Linked DNA regions of Homo sapiens: region 1 is linked to region 2. The links are contacts of gene promoters, found by promoter capture Hi-C in human tissues and cell types (Jung and others, 2019). All regions are on one chromosome and are shown on one strand. The core of a region is centred on a gene start or on the middle of the fragment in contact, and the rest is flanking DNA. Distances in the headings are between cores, read along the strand shown.

Evidence for each region. The method cuts DNA at HindIII sites, captures the fragments that hold promoters and counts their contacts. A contact is called where the count stands out against the background at its distance.
Region 1: a contact is called between a fragment that was not itself captured here and the fragment with the promoter of AAGAB in region 2, in 6 of the 25 tissues and cell types used here (H1 embryonic stem cells, IMR-90 fibroblasts, aorta and 3 more).

The regions. Positions count from the first base shown.
Region 1 is chr15:67,149,475-67,155,295 of GRCh38, reverse strand. All of the region lies in intron 1 of SMAD3 (SMAD family member 3), which reads right to left. Among named protein-coding and RNA genes, the nearest start is that of SMAD3-AS1, 5.4 kb to the right of the region's middle. RefSeq lists enhancers at 677-846, 1,849-2,018, 4,542-5,349. The HindIII fragment of the contact is 4,294 bases long and covers 1,702-5,821 here.
Region 2 is chr15:67,251,955-67,257,734 of GRCh38, reverse strand. AAGAB (alpha and gamma adaptin binding protein) reads left to right here and starts at 3,074. Exons shown (of 10, transcript NM_024666.5): 1 at 3,074-3,176. The coding sequence starts at 3,104. IQCH (IQ motif containing H) reads right to left here and starts at 2,949. Exons shown (of 21, transcript NM_001031715.3): 1 at 2,788-2,949. The coding sequence starts at 2,838. RefSeq lists an enhancer at 3,014-3,333. The HindIII fragment of the contact is 6,332 bases long and covers 742-5,780 here.

The DNA of each region.
Region 1 (5,821 bases), core at 2,599-5,098, 100 kb after region 2:
TGTTCTGGGCAGAGGTTCTTCAGGGAGTTATGAGCCCAGTCCCCTGGGTGTATGTGACAAACCACAGAGGCCCAATGTTCAGAAAACAAAATGTCCTGGTGAGGCGACACTGGCTAACTCTATGTCTGCCTGAAAACTCACTTTGGAGAACTGTGACAGCTGACCCTTGAGGAACCTTGAGGGCATCTGGTCCAATCCCTTCATTTTGGGGTTGAGGAAACAGACTCTGATGCATTAAGATCCTTGTTCAAGGTCACTCAGCAAATTACTGCAGTGTGAGAAGGAGTCCTCACAATTGCCTCTTTCCTTGCAACCAAGCTGGTATTGCCAGCCTTCTTCCAATGACGTGTGTAAAACACATGTGCGTCTACTTGCCTGCTTTGGTAGGTTAAGAACAGCAAGACAATTTTTTCTTTGTTGTATTGAATCTTAAGTTGTCTGAAGGTCTTTAAGATGACAAGTGTTTTTAATTTTTTTTTAAAAAAAGGGACTGAGCAGTTGTTGACTCTGGTTGAAAGACATATAATTTGATTATATTACGATTAGTAGTAGTATAAAAAATTAGCCTATAATTGTAATTTTCTGAAGCTTGGAATCAAAGAGTTACAAACAGAACTCAGGATGTACACTGAATATACTACACCCTGGCATTTTCAAAGATTTTTAAAACTGTTGTTGTTTATTTAAACTCCATTTCCAACATTAGCCTGTTCTTTTCATTTGGTGCCACAAAGACATCTAGTGAGGTCAAGTATGTGGTTGGCCAGGTTCTAGATAATTGAGGTCTCACTGCAAGTTCTACCACAGTGACCATGTGCTCTGCCTGTAGCTGAGTTTCCTGAGTGTTCCCAACAAGTTCTGTAAGTGTGCTAAGCATGTTTTTGAATGTTCCAGTTTAGATTGGACATGAAGAGCTGAAAACAGGATTTCATAACCCTTGATACCAGTCACTAAAACATTTCCACCAAGAACAACTCAATTTTCATCTGAACTTATAAATGGACAATATCTAGTGCTTTGGGCATGAATGCTGCCAGTCTAGGGGGAAACCAAATAAAATGCCAGGCTGCAGCCCCCTATGCCATCCTCCAGACCAGCAGCTGGCCTCTTCTTCACTTCTTCCCATTATATTTAGTCCTCTCTTTCCCTCTGCTAGTTCTCCAGAGCAGCCGGCTCAGGTCCATGACAAGTGCCCCAGGCAGATGGGGCAACCTGGGCAGGAGCCACAGAGGTTGCAGAAGGCTCCTGGGCAGATCCTTGGAGGGGGAAGCCAAGAAACACCTTGCCTTATCCTTGGGAGGGCTGGACTCCACTGGAAACACACAAAGATCGCCTAGACCTTGGGCTATCCCACCTCCCAAGGGCCATGGGTGGGCACAGAATTTGTACTTTCTGGAAAAGAAGAAGGTTGGTTACTGGAGAAAGTTCAGCCTGATGATAATTATCTGTAAAGCACGCAGACACCAAGAACTTTTCAACATCAGGCTATGGATTTGGCGAGGCCCAGAGTTTCTCAACGTTGGCACTACTGATGTTTTGGGCTAATCTTTGTTGGGGCTAGGGGGCTGTCCTGTGTAGAGACAGATATAGAATGCTTAACAGCATGTCTGGCTCCCTCACACTGGATGCCGGTAGCTGTGACCCACCTGCAGCTGTGACAACTGAAAAAAAATACCTCTAAACATTGCCAAATGTCCCCTGGGGGGCAAATCTGCTCTCTTCCCTCCCCTTGAGATCCCCCTGGGCTAAGGAAATGCTCTGAGATGAGCAAGATGCGGGAAAACAGAAGGAATCCCCCCCGCCCGCCCCCCAAGACGGAGTTTTGCTCTTGTTGCCCAGGCTGGAGTACAGCGGAGTGATCTTGGCTCACTGCAACCTCCAGTTCAGGTGATTCTCCTGCCTCAGCCTTCTGCGTAGCTGGGATTACAGGCATGCACCACCACGCCTGGCTAATTTTTGCATGTTTAGTAGAGACGGGGTTTCACAATATTGGCCAGGCTGGTCTCAAACGCCTGACCTCAGGTGATCCACCTGCCCCAGCCTCCCAAAGTGCTTGGATTACAGGCGTGAGCCACTGCACCTGGCCAAACAGAAGCAATTTACACCTCAGAGCAAGCGTTTACCCAGCACTTCTCACTCAGTAACTCACTGGATAAAGGGATCCTGCAGGCTGAGTATCTCATCACTCCCATTTTACAGATGAAAAATTTTTGATGCTGAGTGACTTGCCCAAAGTCACCCAGCAAGGAACAGTGCCTGGGCTTGAACCTAGATGTTACACTCCAAACTCAGTTCTCTATGACTACAAAGCACACTGGGTTTAAATCAGCAGAGATTCTCTTTTGGCTGTGGTGAGAGCCCCTCCCTTCCCCCATGCAAAGAAGACGGTTAAATATTGAAGGAGGAGGAGGAGGAGAGTGTTTAGGGCTTTTCTATTTAATAGCTTTGGTCTTCACAAACTTTTTTCTCCAAGCACCAAGTTGATGGGGATTGCTTTTTCTTGAGTGTCAGCAGGATCATAGAACTTTCAAGTCACAAATAAAAGATGCTACAAAGATCTGGGTTGGTCTGTGACTACTGGAAGAAAGGGAAAAGTTGCCAGGCTTCACAGAATCTTCTGGGTGGCCATTTCACTCTGCTGAAAATTAGGCCTGACAATGGTTTATGTTTTTTTAAGAGATCACTCATGGACCCATTCAGCATACTCACAGCCCTTGGCAACGTTCTGATGGGCTTAAGGCAACAGTGGACTTCACCTCAGCTTTCATTAAAATCCCTCACCCCCAAAAGCTGACCTCCAACAATACAGGAAGCTTGAAATGGAGTAAGTCACAAAGCCAGGTGTGTTTAGACCCATCTTCTCATTCTGGGTGATCTGGGCCTCTCGCTCGGCAGCAGGCCTGTTCATGTAGCCAACACTTAGAGTCTTCTCTGTTTCCAAACTACTTTGGGGAATCAAATTAATTTGCATTGTCAGTTTGAGGGAGAAGAAAATAACCCATAGGACAGAAAGGATTCCTTCATTCTACGACAACATGATGTTCCATTTGGTGGAAACAAAAATGAGTATTTAGGTAAAAACATTTATCAGCCCCAAAACTCTAACTTTGTAAAAACAGAATAGAAGATACTAGAGGCTGAAAAGTGTAAAGGGAACAGAGGGATGGGGAGAAATTTGTTAAAGGTCTCAAAATTACAGCTAAAGAGGAAAAATCAGTTCTAGTGTCCTAAACCACTGTAAGATGATTATACTTAACAATAATATATTATATAGCTTCAAATATCTAGCAATCATATATTACAATATTATTATTACATAGTTTACAATTATTATGTAATATATGATTGTTACTATGTATAATCATATATTACATAGTTTCAAATAGGAGAATATTGAATGCTTATATAGTAACATACATAGTAACATTCATATATTACATAGTTTCAAATAGAAGGAGGATATTGAATGCTTCCAACCCAAAGAAATGATAAATGCTTGACAGGATGGAGATGCTAATTAACCTGATGTGATCACCATAATGACATTAATATGTATCAAAACATCACTATGTATCCCATGAATATGGACAATTATTTGTCAATTTAAAAAAATCAAATATTTTTCAAAAACTCTAACTTTAGAGGGAAAGGAAAAAGGGAAAATAGCCTGGGTGCAATGGCTCATGCTTGTAATCCCAGCACTTTGCGAGGCTGAGGTGGGTGGATTACAAGGTCAGGAGTTCGAGACCAGCCTGGCCAACATAGTGAAACCCTGTCTCTACTAAAAATACAAAAATTAGCCGGGCATGGTGGCGCAAGCCTGTAGTCCCAGCTACTCAGGAGGCTGAGGCAGGAGAATCGCTTGAACCCAGGAGGTGGAGGTTGCAGTGAGCCGAGATTGTGCCACTGCACTCCAGCCTGGGCAACAGAGAGAGACTCCGTCTCAAAATAAATAAATAAATAAATAAATAAAAGGGAAAATGGGGAGAAAGAGCTATTGGAGACTGTGAGATAATGGTCTCATCTTAGACCCTCTTCTCCAAAGAAAAGAAAACAGGCTTAGAGGTGGCAAGGTAGAACTGAAACACAAATCTGGGCCTTCCACTAATATATGAATGTCTTAAGACTGAGATATAAGGCCTGGCGTGGTGGCTCACGTCTGTAATCCCAGCACTCTGGGTAGCCAAGGTGGGCAGATCACCTGAGGTCAGGAGTTCCAAGACCAACCTGGCCAACATGGTGAAACCCCGTCTCTACTAAAAATACAAAAAAATTAGCCAGGCATGGTGGTGGGCACCTGTAATCCCAGCTACTGGGGAGGCTGAGGCAAGAGAATCACTTGAACCTGGGAGGTGGAGGTTGCAGTGAGCCGAGATTGTGCCACTGCACTCTAGCCTGGGCGACAGAGAGAGACTCCATCTCAAAAAAAAAAAAAAAAAAAAAAAAAAGACTGAGAAATAGCTTTGCTCTCTTAATAAAAAAAAAAAAAAAAAAAAAGCAGGACATGGAAAAGTCCCCTCCCCTGACAACTGCAATTTCTCAAGTCTTATCTGCCGGCAAACCTCACTATTAGTTCAACTTCACAAAACAAACAATTCTTATTACAGGACTCTTAGTCATTCTGTTTTTCACTTTCTTCCACAGAGCAGAAGCCATTAGGTCTGGGTATCCTCTCTCTGCCCTCTTTTCCCAGACCTGGTTCCCAGCCTCCCGCCTCCTGCAGTCAGGTCTGCCCGAATCGGAGCACCATGAATCACTTCCTGTGGGCAGACTGCACGCTTGGGGGTGGGATTTACTTTCTTTCTTTCTTTCTTTTTTTTCCTGGAAAAGATTCTCACAGACTTTTGGGGTAAAACAAGTGGAACCAGGCGATGATAACTGGCGGCCTTGTTCTATCAAAACAAATCTTAAAGTTTCCAAAGACTTAGAGAAAATGTCAGGCGGGCATTCCTGACTGGGGGCGGGGGTTGGGGAGAGGTGAAGAGGGCAAATGAGGAGGTTTTGTGTTAATTGCACAGTTTTGACTTCCTTAATTATGAGTCACCGGCTAGAGAGATAAAACAATGTCACAAGTGCTGCATAACATGCAACGGGTCAACCGGGCGACTCAGTGACATTCACGCGGAGAGGCAGTGCCTCAGGACAAGCGCTCACTCCAGTGATTTTACAACAATTCCTAGCAAATGTCACACAGTATGGTTGGGACATTTACAACCATCTCAGTCTTATGACATTTACAACTCAGTCTCTTCTTTTTAAAAGAAGCCCCAAAGCCTTCAGGATTTGCAAACCTTTCAGTTAGCCACTGTTGGGTATGAATGGGGAGCTGGAAGTAAAGGAAGGGTGGGAAATGACCATGTTTCTTGAAAAAGTTAGTTTAAGGACCATGGAGGTAAAGAGGTACCTTTACATGCAAAAAATGCAGCATTTGCATGACAGCAATTGCTAACGTTCCATACACATTCTCTTGCTTTCTGAACCAAAGCTTTACAAGCTTATATAAGCAGTTTCCATCCCAAATGGTAACAAAGAATGGGTGCCCTGTATATTCTGGCATCTGTACCCTGAGGACAGTTAAGTGGCCAATTAGCATTCCTTTCTGTCTAAGGGTACAGACCTCCTATTGTACCTAAAAAAAAAAAGGTTCTGGTTCATTGGGGCAATTCACCTAAGACAGCAAAGAACCCCTATGGGCAGGAAAACAGGAATTCCACACAAGCAAGAAAGGAGGACTTCAGAGAAGCCAGGCCCACACTTAACAATGTCAGGGTGGCAACAGCCCTCCTCGATTAAGCCGGCCTCATCAACTAAGTGGCCCTTG
Region 2 (5,780 bases), core at 1,825-4,324:
ATATTTGGGTCAAGCAAGTATTTATAAAGATATATTAAGAATATACCACATTTTAATGAAGCATAAAAACAAAGCTTCTAAGATTTACAAAGCATGATTGGAAACTTCCCAGAGTCACTATCACACTTCTTCAAGATTACTTCATGAACATGCCATAGCCTATTTAAGGATCAATACATACTGGATGTATTACAATGGGCAAGATGCTTTACTTCTTTGTACCTAAGTGTCTTCTGTAAACTGGAGCTAAAAAATAATACTTACAACACCTTTGAGAACCACTGGTCTAAAAAGCTGTTTAATATATCTGACTGATACACAGACGTAACTGACCATATTAGGGTGAAGCAAGTAGAAATTTAAAGTACCTCTGCTTTACAGTCTATTGCACACACACACTCACTCAGTCACTGACTTGCCAGAAACAATTTGATTGCCTAGGCTAACAACAAAGGAAGTCTACTTTTACAGTAAATGATGTAGCCTGGGGAAATTGGGACAATTTAAAGTCAGAAGTGAACCTAATCCAAACTATATGTCCTATGGAAGAGGAAAGTGAGGTCCAGAGAGATGAGTGCCTAACTCAAAGTCACTACTTGTGAGACTGTCAAAGTCATGGTCAGATCTCAGTATTCTGACTCCCTATCAAGTGCTTTCCACTAGACACACTAATTATTGGTAGCCTGTCTGAGGGAAATAAATCATAGCCCCAAATAGAAGTGGAATCCACGTTGGCACAGTTGGGTGGTGCTACATACTCACACATTCTCAGGATTCACTGAGAAAGTAGGGAAAGTCTTCCAAATTTCCTCACTATACATATTCTACATGTAGAGAATAGAATTTTATACTATACAGGAATCAGTCTTAATAATCTGGTTAACAGGTAGGCTCTCTTCCTCTACACAGCCCTTTACTTGATATGTCCACAGGAATCCTTTTAAATAAGTAGGGGTGCAGATCAACATGGATATGACTATTAGCTCTTCTGACCCATCTCACAAGTCAGTGTCAACAGTTATCTATTACTATAATGTTGTATCCTAGGTAAGAGTCTCCATTATTGTTCTAATTATTTGGAATCTATAAAAAGAGTGGGTATGTGCAGCAAAGAATTAACCTTACCCAAAGAGGGGTCCAGTCTTCGCTCCTGGCTACTGGGAGGTGATCTCTAGGCGCCTGGGATGTCCTGCCTGATAGAAGTGTCTTTGTCTGTGGGCTTTGGCCACCAGACAGTCTATCAACATGATTTATAATGGGTGTTTTGATCCACGCTGTATCAGCTCAGACCTCTGGAGCAGCGGGAAACTAAAAGTATTCAGGAGGGGCTGGAGATTAATGGTCAACCACAAGGGCAGTGTGAGATTGAGCCCCAGTAAAAACTCTGGACATCAAAGCCTCAGATAAGCTTCTCTAGTTGCAATATTCTATGCATATTGTCACATATCATGGCTGGGAGGAAGTAATGCAGGTAATGACGTCAATGACTCCACAGGGATAAGATGACCAAAAGCTCTATGTTTGTACCCCTCCTGGACTCTGTCCTATTCATCTCTTTCCTTGGCTGATTAATTTGTATGCCTTCACTATAATAAAATTGGAGATGTGAGCACAGCACTTCCCTGAGCTCTGCGAATAGTTCTAGTGAATCATTGAATGTGAGGGTGGTGATGGGGCCCCTAAGTTTGTACCCAGCTGGTCTGAAGTGAGGTGGTTCTGGGGACCCCTGAACTTGCAGGTAGTGAGTGTTGAAGTTAGGGCAGTTTTTTGTGGACCGTTCCCTCAGACTTCGCAGTTTGGCTAAACTCATTGCTGCGTGATGGTGAAAGTGAGGGTGAGAAAAGATCAGGTAAGATTAGGTATGATTCTTAATGGGGAAGTCTATGAAATTGGTGAGTTCAGGGGCTTGTATTTGGGAAAAGGTACATTTAGGGAAGTCTCTCCTAGATGGGAGGTAAGAGATCAAAATTCTGCCAGAAAAATTAGATCCCTTTGACGAGTAAGACCCACTTCAGACCAACTGAGTGACAGTCCTGACAGAGTGACCTTAGACAAATGACTTCAAGACTTAGTCAAATGCAGCTATTATATATGTGATAGTTAAAACCGATGATATATGTGGAAATATCTTAAAGTTACCTCACATAAATGTGAAAACAAAATGCCATGATCATTTCAGAAACATCTGAGTGCAACTATTACAAATTGAGCTGTATTGGACAAGACTTTCTTGACATTTCCCCTCTCAAATTAAAAAGGTCTTTCACTAAGTTTTTAAATGTCACATTTTTTCATTCCAAGTTATCTTGATTTTTCTGTGTGTTCTCCAATGAGGAACATTTAGATCTAAAAAACTGGGGTGTTTAAGAAAAGCAATTCACATATTTCAATTTGTCTCCAAATTTCTTATCACCTCCTAGAGTGTCCGATTTGTCTCTCCTCCACTCCCGACGTCATGGGTTCAAATTTTTCAGAATATAACATTTAAAAATGATGCCTCAGCGTGAGGTTAATTTTTCTGAAGTAAAGGTTCCGGGTGAACGGTTTTAGAGTTTTCCCAGAGGCAGAAAGTCCTGCTTCTGGGGCGTAACCTACAGGGTAAGTCACCGGGAGTGTGCTGGGCCGTGGGGGAAGGTCTGGGTGGGCATTTTTGGGAGCCTCTCGCGAGTTGGAGGGAGTCTAGGGGCGGCGCACCAAATGGGTGAGCGTCGGTGAATCGGCGCGCGGGACCTCGCTCGGAAGTGGCGCGGCTGGGCAGGGCAGGGCCGGGGGAAGCCCGTTTCCCACCTGGATTAAGATGGATCCGACAGGGTCGTGGTTTTCAGTGTTCTGTGCCATGGCTAGGTCAGGGAACGGCTACCTCCGCGGAGGCGCGGTTTCCAAGCACGGAAACCTTCAGCCGGAGCCGCTCGTCCCCATGGCAACACCGCGCGCGACCTGGCCTGTTCCACGCTGGGAGCGGAAGGGGGTCTAGGGGCGGGGTCAGGCCAGCCTGGTCATTCCGAGAACGCCCTCTCCGGCCTGTCTCCCCCTCGCGCCGGCGGCCGTGGTGCAGCCCAAGGCGGAAGCGGCTGCCTGACGGAACCGGCTCGCGAGCGCAGCTATGGCTGCTGGCGTACCCTGTGCGTTAGTCACCAGCTGCTCCTCCGTCTTCTCAGGAGACCAGCTGGTCCAACGTGAGTAGATAGGCGCCTGGGCCGACCTCCAAGGCCCCTGAGCCTCAGCGGGCGACGGACCCAGCACCACGGCCTCTCTGGGCCTTGTCCCCGCAGCGGGCCCTGCGTTCTTCCTCCAGTCAGTGGAGGCGCCCAGTCTCCCCAGGTGGCTGCCCCTATCTCTTAATCTCGTGCTTTTCTGCCCACTCGGCCTTCTTCGGCGTTCCTTTCGGCTTCCTGTGTAAAGTGAGACTGATTTCCCGCTCTGCTCAGCCCAGGCCACAGGTTTTTGCGAGGATCCGTTGAGATGAACCTGAAGGCTCTCCGGAAATTGCGCTAGGTTACAGGAGTGTAAGGTGCTGGAATTGTTGATATCGTGATGTTGTTATCCTTGCTGCTCCGGGAGAGAGTGTTTACTCTGAATTCTGAAGTTTATTCTGCGTATTTACTCTGAAGTTTATTCTGCTTCTTAATGTGTACATTATAAGACTTGTTAGCTTTGTCCGCTCCACTCTAGTTATTCACGCCTTTCATCTGAGGCATGGGCTCTCCGCCAACATGAGTTTTTGGGTATGATTGGGCTAGTGCTTTTGCTTGTAGACCCTCATAATGGCTGTCAGACTTACTAACTCTTAAAAGAGAGAACATGGGACTGGATAATAAGCCAACTCTACTAAAGGGCTCTGTGAAGTTGAATTATAGGTAACTCAAGACTTCTGTTTTAAGTGTATGGCTTAGAATCAGAGCAGTGACTTAGCTGTATGATCTCGAGCAAGTCACCTAACCTACCTACATTCCTTCCTTCTTTTCTTTTTTTTTTTTTAAAGAGACGGGAACTTGCTCTGTCGCCCGGGCTGGAGTGCAGTGATGCGATCATAGCTCACTTCAGCCTCGAACTCCTGGGCTCAAGCGATCCTCCTGCCTCAGTCTCCCGAGCAACTGGGACTGCAGGCTCACACCACGAACCCTGGCTAATTTTTTTATTTTTTGTAGAGCCAGAGTCTTGCTATGTTGCTCAGGCTGGTCTCCAACTCGTGGTTTCAAGTGATCCTCCTGTCTTGGCCGCCCTAAGTGCTGAGATTACAGGCGTGAGCCACTGTGCCTGGCTACCCTTCACTTTCTCTTTTCTCTCCTTTTTTTTATTTTTGTTTTGAGATAGGGTCTCACTCTGCTGCCCAGGCTGTAGTGCAGTGGCGTTATCTCGGCTCACTGCAACCTCTGCCTCCTGGGCTCAAGCCATCCCCCTACCTCAGCCTCCCAAGTATCTGGGACTACAGGTGTGTGCCACCACGCCCGGCTAATTGCCCCCCCCCCCCCCCGTCATACGGGGTTTGGCCATGTTGCCCAGGCTGGTCTGGAACTCCCGGGCTCAAGTGATCTGCCTGCCTTTGCCACCCAAAGTGCTGGGATTACAGGTGTGAGTCACCACCGCGCCCGGCCCCTTCACCTTCTATCTATAAAATAGGGATAATTTTCGCAAGATTGTGCTTATCCCCGAGTCTGGCACATAGTAAACATTTGATAAATCATAGACATTATTATTAAGGCACATTACTATCTCTGTAACCCTCAATTTCCTGATCCTTAAAATGGGGCATATGAGCCTATTTCAGGAGTATTTGAAGGACAGATGATGTGACATTTTGAACACACTTTGTAAACTGTAAAGCATTGTATAATTATAATTTCTTTGCTACACCTGTCAAATGACAGAATTAGGTAAGATGTCCCTTCAGTGCAGATATTATATGACTTAGTTATCATTTGTGATCACTTAGAAAGTTCCTTGCTAGGGTAAAAGCTTAATTATAGCATTTAACTAAGTGGTTACTAACTGGTCTAATTAGGCCATTTTCTTACCTTTAAGCAGTGCTCCTTCCTATTTTCTCCCTTCCCTCCTTTCTTCCTTCTTTTCTTCCTTCCTTCCTCTTTTTTCTTTAATTGTTTCATTGTAAAACTAGTGCATACTAAGTAAAATTTAGCATACAGAGAAAAGAAAATAGCCATAGTCTCATTACCCAACTACAAATACTGCTAACATTTCTTTCCAGTCTTTTTTTCCATTGCAGTTTCTTAAAAAGAAATAATTGTAATTACATTTAATACACAATTTTTTCTGTTTTTAAAAATTTTTTAAATACACAGTTCTTATCCTCAGATTTATCAAAAATTAGTTTCTCACATATATCCATCTAGTGAATAAACCAGAATTTGCTCAAGATTCTTAAAGATGTAACTAACTTTCCAAAAGACTTACATGCATTAGGAATCCTATTAGCGATACATGGAAGTCTTTTCAAGACAATCTCAGGAATATTAATTATTCTAAATGCTATGGTGCTCTGTTGTGTGCTTTAATGATCCCAATCGGCAAACATGGTCCCTGCCTTGAAGTAGCTGATTACCTGTAGTTAGCAAATAGTAACATTGTACTTCTGTAAAGTGTATTAGCATTATTGGGGGTAAAATTAATTCTGTAAAATAATCCATTTTATCTCTGTATATAAAATGCTCTTAGATAATTCCAGTTCGGGTTAAGATCAGATGACCTTTCCATTGCAACTCGTTACTGTCGTGTAGTAAAAAATAAAAGAAGAACAGCTAGTGAGCAGATTACTTGAATAA